Linked DNA regions of Homo sapiens: region 1 is linked to region 2. The links are contacts of gene promoters, found by promoter capture Hi-C in human tissues and cell types (Jung and others, 2019). All regions are on one chromosome and are shown on one strand. Each heading gives the region's core, a stretch centred on a gene start or on the middle of the fragment in contact. The rest is flanking DNA. Distances are from core to core; before and after follow the strand shown. Region 1 holds the start of PLIN1 (perilipin 1). Region 2 holds the start of AP3S2 (adaptor related protein complex 3 subunit sigma 2).

The links. The method cuts DNA at HindIII sites, captures the fragments that hold promoters and counts their contacts. A contact is called where the count stands out against the background at its distance.
Region 1: the fragment with the promoter of PLIN1 here is called in contact with the fragment with the promoter of AP3S2 in region 2 in 8 of the 25 tissues and cell types used here (adrenal gland, bladder, heart left ventricle and 5 more).

What each region holds. Positions count from the first base shown.
Region 1 is chr15:89,675,711-89,682,892 of GRCh38, forward strand. PLIN1 (perilipin 1) reads right to left here and starts at 3,657. Exons shown (of 9, transcript NM_002666.5): 1 at 3,541-3,657; 2 at 1,735-1,793. The coding sequence starts at 1,779. It overlaps PEX11A (peroxisomal biogenesis factor 11 alpha), which reads right to left. Exons shown (of 3, transcript NM_003847.3): 3 at 5,825-7,182. The HindIII fragment of the contact is 12,360 bases long and covers 1-7,182 here.
Region 2 is chr15:89,890,057-89,896,766 of GRCh38, forward strand. AP3S2 (adaptor related protein complex 3 subunit sigma 2) reads right to left here and starts at 3,938. Exons shown (of 6, transcript NM_005829.5): 1 at 3,825-3,938. The coding sequence starts at 3,893. The region is part of intron 5 of ARPIN-AP3S2 (ARPIN-AP3S2 readthrough); the gene reads right to left. ARPIN (actin related protein 2/3 complex inhibitor) reads right to left here. Exons shown (of 6, transcript NM_182616.4): 6 at 4,950-6,710. RefSeq lists enhancers at 2,227-2,976, 3,969-4,118, 4,473-5,220. The HindIII fragment of the contact is 43,728 bases long and covers 1-6,710 here.

The sequences.
Region 1 (7,182 bases), core at 2,407-4,906, 210 kb before region 2:
GTGACATGAGCTCACTTAATTCTAACAGCCATCCTCTGGGGTCAGCACTGTCACCAACACTGAGTCGATGAGGAGATTGACAATCAGAAACAGGAAGTGATTTACCCAAGATCCCACAGCTGATAAGTGGCAGAGCCAGGATTCCAACACAAGTTGGAAATGGCCTACCTGGGATTACCTTCAAAATAACATGAAGTGGGGGAATTAATGGAAGTGAGGACGAGGCGGGATTGGCCACGAATTCATGGTCTTCGGGGCTAATAAAGGGTACGTGGGGCTTCCTATGTTCTTTTCTGTCTATTCTTATGAATGTTGAGAATTCTCCATATCAAAAGTAAAAAGAAAAAAAAACCCAGGTCAGATTCCGATGCTCAGGCTCTCTGTAGCTTTGAATATGACACTGTGGCATGGTTTTGCTCGCAAAGTGAAGACCTGACCTGTTCTGTTAGTAGGAGGCAGAGTTCAAAGACCCCCATCAATGACACCTACATGTACACTAAGACAGAGCAGCCCACAATATCTTAGTTTTTTTTTGTTGTTTGTTTGTTTGTTTTTTTGAGATGGAATCTCGCTGTCTCCCAGGCTGGAGTGCAGTGGCGCGATCTCAGCTCACTGCAAGCTCTGCCTCCTGGGTTCATGCCATTCTCCTGCCTCAGTCTCCCAAGTAGCTGGGACTACAGGCGCCCGCCACCATACCCCGCTGATTTTTTGTATTTTTAGTAGAGATGGGGTTTCACTGTGTTAGCCAGGATGGTCTTGATCTCCTGACCTTGTGAACCGCCCGCCTTGGCCTCCCAAAGTGCTGGGATTACAGGCGTGAGCCACTGCACCTGGCCAATATCTTAGTTTTTTATCCTGCAGGTGAATTTGAAATTTGAACTAGAAATAGACTATGACTATAAACAAGAAAACATTCTTTTTAACATTTTGGACGAGGCTTCAGAGGTTGTTTTACACAAAACCGAAGGAGGAAAGAGATCCTGGGAAGGGAATAAACCACCGTCTGTTAGAATGGCTTAACCATGTACTTGACCATTTTACGCCTCTCTCTGTTCTATGATTCAATACAAAACAAAGTGATTCCTAGTGCAGGAGTTAGTAAAAGCGTAACTTGGGCAAGGTGGATATTGCACAGGTTCATAATTTTTAAGTTTCACTATCCGAACTGTGCCCAAATCTGAGATGCCTTGCCAGGAGCCATCAAGCATCCCTAAAAGTATCAAATCACTTCAAGTCACAGTGAAAACCAGGTCAGAGATAGAACACCAGACACATGGAATATCCCACCCTTCCCCCCACACAGCAGCACAGGCTGTGCACCGTCTAACTCCGACAGGTGACATTTGCCGTTATGAATGATGCTGGAGACACAGAATACAGTGGCTCTGCACTGAATGCACATCCAGCTGGGTGGTGGACAGAGCATGGGCTTCTGCGTCAGGGTTTAAACAGTAGTTTCCTTCCTCTCCACTCCCCCCGTCCCTAAGCCAGGATTTCTGTCCCTTTTTTTCAAGGTGCTTAATTTTTAATAGGCATCTTTTTTTCCCCTCCCAGATCCTCCAACTGCCCCCTACAAAAGGTGGTGAGGGCAAGAATAACTAAGCCATGGTAGTCAATGAACTAGGATTATAATCTGGGAATATCTTGCTCTAAGTCCCCTGCATCTCCCCTCCCTGCTTCTTCCTCCTCCCTCAGTTGTCCATCCCCTGTCACAGATGAGCCCAAGTTACTTACAGGGAGGTCTCCATCCAGCAAGGTGAGGCCTTTGTTGACTGCCATCCTCGCTCCTCAAGCTGCAAAACAGAGTCCCAGGTCCCATCAGAAGCCCTCAGGCTTGAGCTCCACTGGGTCACTTCCCTACCTCTCATGGCCACCAACTAGGCCCAGGCTGCCTGGGGGCCCATTTGCCCTGAACAGAAGGCATTAGGTTGGAGGGTGAATATCACACACAATAGCCCCACTCCTTAGGGTCCCATAGCAATGAGTTGCTCCATAGCTTACTTGTCAAGACTGATGTTTCTTTCTTTTTCTTTTCTTTCTTTCTTTTTTTTTTTTTTTGAGATGGATTCTTGCTCTGTTGCCCAGGCTGGAGTGTAGTTGCACAATCTCGGCTCACTACAACCTCCGCCTCCCGGGTTCAAGGGATTCTCCTGCCTCAGCCTCCCAAGTAGCTGGGATTACAGGCGCCCACCACCACGCCCGGCTAGTTTTTTTTTTTTTTTCTGTTTAGTAGAGATGGGGTTTCACCATGTTGGCTAGGCTGGTGTCGAACTCCTGACCTCAAGTGATCCACCTGCCTAGACCTCCCAAAGTGCTGGGATTACAGGCATGAACCACCACACTGGCTAATTTTTGTATTTTTAGTAGAGATGGGGTTTCATCATGTTGGCCAGGCTGGTCTCGAACTCCTGGCCTCAAGTGATCTGCCCACCTTGGCCTCCCAAAGTGCTGTGATTACAGGCAAGAGCCACCATGCCCGGCCAAGAATAATGTTTCCTATAAGAGTTCAGGTTAAGAGGCCAGGCGCGGTGGCTCAGGCCTGTAATCCCGGCACTTTGGGAGTCCAAGGCAGGCAGATCACCTGAGTTCAGGAGTTCAAGACCAGCCTGGGCAACATGGTGAAACTCCGTCTCTGCTAAAAATACAAAAATTAGCCAGACGTGGTGGTGGGCAGCTGTAATCCCAGCTACTTGGGAGGCTGAGGCAGGAGGATCGCTTGAGCCTGAGAGGTGGAGGTTGCAGTGAGCTGAGATCCTGCCACTGCACTCCAGCCTGGGTGACAGAGGGAGACTCTGTCTCAAAAAAAAAAAGGAGTTCAGGTTAGGAAATAAAAAATGCAGGTAGCCATAAGAGATAAAAAGTTTTAGATAAAATCTTAAGGCTCTTAAATGAGGGTCCAAAAGAGACTAAAACAAGAAGTTTCAAGCTGGGTGCACTGGCAAGCACCTGTAATCCCAGCTACTGAGGCTGACATGGGAGAATTGCTTGAGCCCAGGAGTTTGAGATCAGCCTCGGCAATACAGTGAGATGCCCATCTCTAAAAAAATAAATAAACAAGTTAAAGGTTTCATCTTTGAAAAGGCTCTGGGTTAATTCCTCTATTTCTCTCTTTCTCTCTGTCTGTCCCTCTCCCCCTCTCCCTATCTGTTTTTTGAGACAGGGTCTCAATCTGTTGCCCAGGATGGAATGTGGTGGCACGATCATGGCTCAATGCAGCCTTGACCTCCTGGGATCAAGGTACCCTCCCACCTCAGCCTCTCATGTAGCTGGGACTACAGGCATGCACCACAATGCAGGGCTAATTTTTTCTCTTTTTTTATAGAGACAGGATCCCACTGTGTTGCCCAGGTTGTTCTTGAACTCCTGGGCTCAAGTGATCCACCTGCCTTGGCCACCTGCAGTGCTGGGATTAAAGGCATGATCCACTGTGCCTATCCAATTCCTCTATTTCTAGATTCTGGTATCTATACCAGAATCTCTCCCTCAGTAGTTTCCCTGCAGAGTTTTTCATCCCCAGCAAAATCCCCAAGAGGCCCTTACCTTCAACTTCTTCCCTTTAATGTTCATAAACAAGCCATGTAAGGCAGGTGCCCCAGGACCCCAACACTCACTCCGGCTGACCGCCACCTCAGTCTCACAGAGCCCAGGCTGCAGAGTGTCTCCTCAGGCAGAAACAATTCCTGTCACTCCTGGGAGGCTTGGGCAATGCTGCTTCCACCTCCCAGCTAGAGGAGGGCAGAGAGGGAGAGACAACAGGGTCAGCCAGTTGTCATGGTTATATGACCCAGGGTTCCCCAGGCATATCCTAACTTCTCTAAGGACATTTAGCAAACAAGGAGGTAGGTGGCAGAGCTGAAGGAGATCCAGGCTCAGAGGACTTAGTATTCCAGAGCCATGAAGCATCAGTTCTGTAATGTTCCTGCCCTCAATTCACAAAAATCTGCTTTCCAGAAAGAAGGTATAGGGATAGACATCATTAAACTCAAAAGCTCTAAAGTTCTATATACCTCTGCAATCTTTTGGCTCCTTTTCCATAGAGGGTCTTGTGGGAGTTTTCAATCCATTTCTCTCATCTTTTCTTATTTACTAGCAAGACTGAATGCTGAACAGTAAAATTTAAACCCACACAGAAGAGTTCATCTGAATGTATTCATCTTTGATTATGGAGATAAATTGCCCTCAGTGAAGAAGCGACAGAGCCGGGAGTTGAGTTTTTGACAATATAGCCTTTGAGTTGAGGGAGGAATTCCCACTTCTTAGAATTCAAAAAAATTTATTGAACTTTACCTGGCCTAAGATGCTACCAGAATGAAGAGTAGGAGAGCCAAGTAGATTTTTATTCTCCTGGGTCTGGATAAGCGACAGTGTTGACTAGGATTCTATCACTAATCAAGAGCACCCAGACAGCCAAGAATTAGCACCACTCAACCCTTCTTTACCCAGGACTCAAGCACAAGCCCAAGTTCTAGTTCCTGGCTTTAGATATGATGGAGGACTATGGTATAAGCCATAGCTTTCAGATTAACTAAGAAGGGCCTCTTCATGAAAACAGACAATAGGAAAACAAAACTTATTTTCTTTGTTGCTGGTGGAATTATATGTATTGTTGACTCTGTTAAGTCACACAGTGTGGGCAAGAGAAGAAAGAGGCAGGGGTGGGGAATTATGAAAGATCCTTGGTAATAAATTACGTATCTGTGATGCAATAAAGTAGGGAATGAGAAGGCAGGAAAGGGAGGAGTCAAGCAGGGAGGCTTCAAAGGAGTAATACGCTATACGTTTAATACTTATTGATCCAACCTGTGCTTTTCAAATGTAAGGCAGTAGAGAAGACAAAGTATTTAAAGAAGTGGCCTCTGCCCTCACCTCAAGGTTCAGCACAAATTATCTGTGAGGCTGTGACTGGACAGCAACCTGAGCCAAAGGGCAGTTTTCAGCCTTCAGAGTAGTGGCTTTGGGCCAGAGGGAACATAGGGCTTTGTGCCTGAAAGCTCTGCCAAATCAAATAGTCCTTTGGCTGCTTTAGCTGGGAGTGCAGAATGTGGGTGAGAGGTGAGAAGTGGTGAAAGGGCCTAGGAGAGTCCCGAGGGAAGACAGAAGTGTTAGTTTTCTAGCAGTAGCTTGCAGGGCATAGAGTTCTATCTTCTTTCCTTCTCCGTACCTACCTGCTTTCCCTACCCCTCCACCAAGTGAGAGCAGGGACCTAGGTCATCTTGCTCACAAGTGGATACCCAAAACCATGCATGGCACTCAAACATTCATTGTTGAATAAATGAATTGTCAGGCAACAATGCTCAGTTGTGAATGTGCTGGGCTGTACATCTACGAAGAACTTCTTCGATTTTTGGCATCCCTCATGAATGTGGAGGCTCTGGGGTGGAAAACATTAGTTACAAAGAAGGATTCACAGGGTGGTACCAGGACACCATTAAGGTTTACACAAACCTCTTAGAAGAGGTAGTATTTCCCAAACTCCCCACCACTCACCATTGCAGAGGACAAAAGTACCAAGATGGATACCACTGTAACATAACATACCACCATGAATTCAAGGCAGACTTACCTAGGCAGAAGCCAGCCAGCGATTGACAGGGCTACTGTAGAGCACCATCTCCATGGCAGCAGTCTAGATGAGTTCATTTCAGAGGTCCCTCTCAACCCAGAGGCTCTACATCTCAATCTTTCTCCATCCTCCTCCTCAGCCTGGATCTTCTAGCCCAGAGCTCGCTGTACCAACTGTGTAGGCTGATTGAGGATTATCTGATGGATTGCCTTATGTTTAACTCTTCTCTCTTCCCAGAACACACTCACAGACACAAGTCAATTTTGTCTAGAAATTTATTGAACATAGTTAATCTATTACAGTAGAGGATCTGGACAATAAAAATAGTTATTTAAGCTTTTTATTTTCCCTGACCTAGTAGCTTTCATGTCTCTTAAAATTCCCTAAATTTTATTTCTCAAATCCCATATCGTGATTGGTTAAACAGACAGCCAAGAATCTGAGTCTATTTTTTGAGAATCTCAATCACATTTCTGGGAAATGTGACTTATTGAGTACATATTTATTTTCTCATTTCCATTCAGATAAATGACACAGCTTTGCTGGGAGGACTGACATCGGCCTCCTACCTGCTGGCATCCTATTTCTCTACCTCACCTCCCTCAAACTAAAGGATCTGTAACCACATATAAAGACCCACACCCAAGATGGCAGATAGGAACACAAGTCAATGTCATTGACTCAGCATTCCATTGTCCTCTTCACTGGCTTCCTCCTGCGCTTTCCACCTCCCTCAATCACCCTAGAAATAAGATGTCTGATTTATCGTAGAAAATTGTGACTCTCTTACATCTGGAGTATTCATGAAATTTTTTTGACTGGATAAATTTTGATGAAAATTAATGTAGAATTGCCTAAATTGTTAGAAGGATTTAAATAAAACAATCTAACTGATAAGTCTAAATACTGTCTTAATTTTTTTTTAAGACACAGGGTCTTGCTCTATCACCCGGGCTGGAGTGCGGTGGAAGCTCACTGCAGCCTTGAACTCCTGGGCTCAAGTGATCCTCCTGCTTCAGCCTCCAGAGTATCTGGGACTACAGGCATACTCCACCATGCCTGGCTAATTTTTTAACACTTTGTTGTAGAGAAGGAGTCTCACTACATTGCCCAGGCTGGTCTTGAACTCCTGGCCTCAAGCAATCCTTCCGCTTCAGCCTCCCAAAGTGCTGGGATTATAGGTGTGAGCCACCACACTCCACCCAGTTTTAGTTTTTCTAGAAAAGAATATAAACCACTGGACAAGGAAATTTCCAAATTATGGGAGAGTAAGAGGCAAAAAACAGGATTCAGGAGGGGATCACATTTCTACTCAATTCTGAAGACAGTGGGAGAGCATGGAGAGAACACTGGATTAGGAGTCAGAGGAATGAGGCTCTAGCCTCAGTTTTTTGTTTGTCTCACTGTCAGCTTCTTATCTGTCACAGGCTACATATAGGCACCCATTGTGACCCTGTACCTATTTTTATAAGTCCCTCCGGTCTGCTTCTGATTTTTGCTTATTCACTGCACCCATAGACACAATTTATACCATGAAGGTGCCTGATGCTTTTCTGATTCTACTTCTGCACAGAGCAAGGACATGAGTGCAGTGATGGTATAAGGGCCAACAAGTTGAG
Region 2 (6,710 bases), core at 2,688-5,187:
AAATGTATTATTATTATTTTTAGACAGAGTCTTGTTCTGTTGCCCAGGCAGTGGTGTGATCACAGCTCATTGCAACCTCCACCTCCGGGTTCAAGCGATTCTCCTGCCTCAGCCTCCCCAGTGGCTGAGATTACAGGTATGTGCCACCATGCCCGGCTAATTTTTGTATTTATAGTAGAGATGGGGTTTCACCATGTTGGTCAGGCTGGTCTTGAACTCCTGACCTCAAGTGATCCACCTGCTTTGGCCTCCCAAAGTGCTGGGATTACAGGTGTGAGCCACCATGTCTGGCCTTATTTTTTCACTTACTACGTGCATAAGAAAGCTCAACTCTGATGAAATCACTTTGATAACTCACCTTTGATTTCTAATTATACATATGAGTTTCAGAAGAAGTATGGTTAAAAGGGTAAGAGAGGGAGAAACCAGCAATTAAGACAGATAATAACTTAAAGCTCTAGAGCATTGCTTCTCAAATCTTCATTTGCAATGAATCAGCTGTGAATGCTGTTAAAATACAGATTCGGATTTAGCAGGTATAGGTTAAGTCCTGAGATGCAAGTCTAGTAAGCACCCAGGCAATAACATTTCTGCTGGTCTGGGGACCACACTTTGAGTAACGAATCATAAGAAAACCTTCAAATTGGACTTGCCCCAAGAGTTAGAAAATAGGTTCAAGTAATTTTAATCCCTTTCTTTCTATAGCCCTGAATTTAGCTTTGAAATGGTTATTTAAAAGAAACAGAGAGGGGAAAAAAGGGAAAACGTAATTGTGGGGAAATTACTTTGACTCACATGGGTATGGAATGGCTCACAGTATTTACTGACTGAATGAAAACTTGCTAATCATTGGTCACTACAAATTTGAGTAAATTAATCACTATTTTCCTCATTTCCATTTAAAGAACAAACAAAGCTCACAGATGACAGGATGCTGTAGGAGACGAACTCTATATATGCAAAATACAAAACATGCTAAGCATCAGCACTTTTTAAAACTGACAAAGACATCTTTTGAACTAAAGCCTTTTATCTGACTCTGGGGGAAGTGGCAGCAGTGGGGAAGTGGTACGAAATGATGAGGCTACCTAATTTCTAGTTCAATAAAAAGGTAAACTACCAATTGCTTACATGCCTCAGTGATTTTAATAACCCCTCATATCTTTTTAGTACTCTGTAGTTTTCAAGGTACTTTCATCCATGAGCTCATGAGGTCTTATAAAAATCCTATGATCCAAAGATACACGAATGGGCAATAAGCACATGAAAAGATGCTCAACATCATTAGTCATTTTGGAAACTGAAATCAAAACCACAATGAGCTGGGTGCGGTGGCTCACGCCTGTAATCCCTGCACTTTGGGAGGCCAAGACGGGCAGATTACTTGTGGTCAGGAGTTCGAGACCAGCCTGGCCAACACAGCGAAACCCCATCTCTACTAAAAATACAAAAATTAGCCAGGCATGGTCGTGGGCACCTGTAATCCTAGCTACTCAGGAGACTGAGGCAGGAGAATCACTTGAACCCGGGAGGCAGAGGTTACAGTGAACCGAGATCACGCCACTGCAGCCTGGGAGATAGAGTGAGATTCAGTCTCGGAGGGAAAAAAAAAAGCCACAGTGAGATACCACTTTACACCCACTAAAATGTCTTTAACCAAAAATAAATAAATAAATAACGAATGGCAGGGATGTGAAGAAACTGGAATCATTATACATTGCTGATGGAAATGTAAAATGGTGCAGCCACTTGGAAAATTTGTCAAATAGTTTGCAGTTTCTCAAAATGTTCACCACAGTTACCATATGATCCAGCAATTCTACTCCTAGGTATATAACCAAGAGAAATGAAGTCATAAGTCCACATAAAAACTTGCACAAGAATGTTCATAGCAGCATTAATTAGAAGAGCCAAAAAGCAGAAATATCAACTTATAAATTGACAATCAAAATATGGCATATCCATATAATGGAATATTATTCAGCAATAAAAGAAATGAAGAACATCAGATACATGCTACAACATGGATGAATCTTGAAAACATTATACTACATGAAACATGGCAGACACACAAAAAACCACTTATTTATGATTCCATTTATAGGCAACGGAATAGGCAAATTCCATTTGCCATTCTGGAACTGGCAAATTTAGAGGGAAAGAAACTCTCTGGGGCTGGGAGAGTCATGGAGAAATAGGGAGTGACTGCTAATGGGCAGAGGTTTCTTTTTGGGGTGATGAAAATGATCTAAAATTGATTGTGGTGATGGTTACACAGCTTCTGTGAACATGCTAAAAAACACTGAATTGTCCCCTTTAAATAAGTAAACTGGGGCCGGACACAGTGGCTCATGCCTGTAATCCCAGCACTTTGGGAGGCTGAGTCCGGTGGATTGCTTGAGCCCAGGAGTTCAAGACCAGCCTGGGCAACATAGAAAGACCCCGTCTCTATAAGTAAATAACATAAAATAAATAAGTAAACAGTATGGCATGTTAGTTTTATCTCAGTAACCCTGTTAGAAAAAAACTAGGGGGGAAATTTGCATACACACAAATGCAAATACAAATAGTTACGCTGAATACTCATATACATACATATATATATATACTTTTTTGTGTGTGTGTGTGATGGAGTCTCGCTCTTTCGCCCAGGCTGGAGTGCAGTGGCGCTATCTTGGCTCACTGCAAGCTCCGCCTCCCGGGCTCACGCCATTCTCCTGCCTCAGCCTCCTGAGTAGCTGGGACTTGGAGGTGCCCGCCACCGCGCTTGGCTAATTTTTTGTATTTTTAGTAGAGACGGGGTTTCACCGTGTTAGCCAGGATGGTCTCCATCTCCTGACCTCGTGATCCGCCCGCCTCGGCCTCCCAAAGTGCTGGGATTACAGGCGTGAGCCACCGCGCCCGGCCTGAATACTCATATTTTTACCTCGATGTAATCTACTTAATAAAATGTAATCTAGCTTTAAAAATCTTATGAAGGAGTAAAATTATTTTTTCATTTCTAATTGACAAAAGACAATAAAAGTCTGAAAAGGGTTTATTAACTTGTCAACAGACGCAAGAGTAGAAAAGGTGGAGCTGAAGCCTGAACACGTTTTCTGGCTCTTTCCCCTCTTCAGTTCCACCAGTCCCCCAATTATGTAACATTTTGAAACCCTGCCATGAAGAAATATAATCTTCGAAGACAGGAAGCAAATACTGATGTTTATGTGTTTGCAAAGGAACGTGTTGGGAAAATTCAAATTTACGTAATCACTTATTGAGCCCTTATGCGGCAGCATTTATAATTTCTCATCATTTTTCCACTTTTAAACTGATTTTCTTCAACCCTAAGAGTGAAGGGTATCTAGTCTCTGGAAAGTCCCAGCCAACACTGAAGCAAAATAATTCCAAAAAAAAAAGAACTTTTCCAGTTCTGGCTATAACAAAAACTTTCAGAAACTTAATATTTCTTCCTCATGAAACTGTGGTCAACAACCAAAAAGATGACAGAATGTGACTTCAATCACTCAAGTTCTCATCGAGGCACACTCCCCACTGTCGCTTCTATCTCGTTCCCAGAGACCCACGGGAAAATGTCACAAAATGGCACAGAAATGCCAGGATCAAGAAAAGGGTCAGCGAGAGCGGGGCAGTAGGGCGGGAGACAGAAGGCCTGGCACCAGCCTGCGCCTAGATTAAATGCTTAAGTAGGGCGAGGGTCATGCTCGGTGCAGGAGCCCCAGGTGACCAAAGAGCGGTGCCCCCGGGCGCCGAGAGGCCAAAGAGGAGGGAAGACATAGTGGGCGCCCTGAAGGGGCGTGGTGAAGCCGGGCCGCACTCACGAAACGCTGGTAGAAGCGGACTAGCCGTGGCTTCCCATGGTTGTTGAAAACCAGAATCGCCTGAATCATCTTTGCCAGCCACGGTTCTCTCAGCACCGGCTACTCCCAGAAAGCTCCTCCTTCCGCCACAACACGATCACTTCCGGTTGGTGCGCTGCTGAGAGCGGCACTCGGAAACTTGGCCCCGGCGCTCACGAGCCCTAGCACCCAAGGGTCCGGCCTCTCTGACGCCTTGGAGGGCAGGTGCGGATGCCGAGGAGAGTGGTCACCTCGGCCAGCGTTGGTTGGCCAGTCAGGATGCGAATCCGGATCTATGTCCCTCGCCCAGACCGACGGCTGGCCCCAGAAGCCGAAACGACCGTCAGCCGGGTTGCCAAAACGGAGAGGCGGCGGGAGCTTGCTTTTCTCACCGCCCGCTCCAAATCATGCACTCCCGCCATCCCCTTAGCGCTCGCAGAACGTTCCGCGGAGTGGAGACGCCGGTCATTCGGCCGTTCGTCGGTTATGGAACATTTCGTTCATTTTAATTTTTCAGTATTATAATGCTGCAGTGAATTACGTAGCTGTCTCTCCGTGCAGATGGGCTGTTCCTCTATGGTAGACGGTGAATGGTGGAATTAAGGAATTTTTAGTGCATTTCCATTTAAAATCCCAAATCGATCAAGTTCTTATTTTTGTTTGTTCTTTTAATGACCCAGTGTGGGTGAAGTGGAGCATGTCCGTATACTGCAGATGGAGCAGCGGATACAGATGCAAATCGATCCAGAGGACTGTTTGGCGATATGGATCAGAAGCCTTTAAAATATATAACAGTCCGGGCGCGGTGGCTCACGCCTGTAATCCCAGCACTTTGGGAGGCCGAGGCGGGCGGCTCACTTGAGGTCAGCAGTTCGAGACCAGCCTGGCCAACAAGGTGAAACCCCGCCTCTACTAAAATTACAAAAATTAGCCGGTTGTGGTGGCGCGCGCCTGTAGTCCCAGATACTTGGGAGACTGAGGCAGGAGAATGGCTTGAACCCGGGAGGCGGAGGTTGCAGTGAGCTGAGATCACACCACACTGCACTCCAGCCTGGGTGACAGATATATAACATATATATATATATATATAAAACATTAGACTCAGCGTTTCCAGCTCTAGAATTTATGATAAAATGATTGTGGATGTGTGAAAAGATTTAGCCTGAGGAACATACATTTCTGCCAGAGTATCTTCAGAACAGTAAAAAAAAGAAGAAAAAAATATATATCTCAGCAGTGTTATTACAGGGGAAAATGGGAAGAAAATTATTACAAAAATGAGAAATTGGTTAAGTGCATTGTTCTACATTGAATATGAGAAATATTAAATAGATAATAAAAATCATGCTGGGAAAGATTTATGATACGGAAGTGTTCATGACACCTGTTAAGCTAAAAGATTACACAAAGTATGTACAGGGACAACCCACTTTGCTCAAGATTGGAGGCAAATACACCAAAATATGAATCATGTATCTGATGGAATGGCAGAGTCAGGGTGTTTGATCTGTACAGGACCCTGGAACCACACTGCCCTGATTCAAAGCATGGTTCTGCGGACTGCCTGGGCACCCTGGGCAAGTTTCCCCATCTGTAGAAAAGGTGTAATATCAGTTTCCTAAACTGGAAAACTGGAAAATGAGTCTACTGACTTCAGACAGTTGTTATAAACACAAAGGGAGTTAGTATAATATTTGTAAGCACTTGGACAGTGCATGGCACATAACTGAGTACCACATAAGTGATTTAAAAACATCTTTGGGTGGTAGGATTATCAAGTTTTCCTTTTTTTCCTTCAAAGAAATATGTACTACTTTTGCAGCCAGAGTTCTGGGGTTTGCTTGTTTGTTTTTCAGAGATAGGGTCTTACCCAGGTTGGAGTGCAGTGGCACAGTCATACCTCACTGTAACCTCAAACTGCTGGCCTCAGGCAATCCTCCAGCCTCAGTCTCCCAAACCGCCACCACGCCTAGTCCAGTTTTTTGTTTGTTTGTTTGTTTGTTTGTTTGAGATGGAGTCTCACTCTGTTGCCCAGGCTGGAGTGCAGTGGCACAATCTTGGCTCACTGCAACCTCCGTCTCCCGGGTTCAAACAATTCTCCTGCTTCAGCCTCCCCAGTAGCTGGGATTACAGGCACATGCCACCATGCCCAGCAAATTTTTGTATTTTTAGTAGAGATGGGGTTTCACCACATTGGCCAGTCTGGTCTCAAACTCCTGACCTCAAGTGATTCACCCATCTCAGTCTCCCGAAGTGCTGGGATTACAGGCGTGAGCCACTGCGCCCGGCATGGCCCAGTTTTTAAATAAATAAAAACCAAAAGTCAGTTGCACTGAAACTTGACAAAATGTTTAAAATGTTGAGGAAGAATATCAAAGAAAATTCTGAAACAGAATTATGAAGAAGAACTAGCTCTGCCAACTATGAAAACCTACTTTGATGGTTCAAATTGTAATTATAGGAAGAATAACTGAAATATTATAAATAATTTAGGCATAAAATAATTTTAATATGTGATGTAGGAGTGGGAAGGAATTCAGTAAATACTATTAGGATAACTGGTTAGCAATTTGAAAATAAGTAGTTAGGTATAAAACCAGATAATAACCTAAACAGAAGAAAGCGAAATTGAATAAGATCCAAAAATCTGTATTAGCTTAGAAGCAATAAAAATCACAAAACATCAACAGATATATAAAGTTTTTTTATAAAAAGAATTATTTAATGGAAAAATCGTTGTTAAAATATGGCAAATGGTTATATTTAAAATGCAAATAACTGATAAACTAAAAAGATAACACTCCCCATCTCCCCAGTAGATAAATGGACGAAAGAACGAATAACAAAGGGAGAAATACAGCTAGGAAA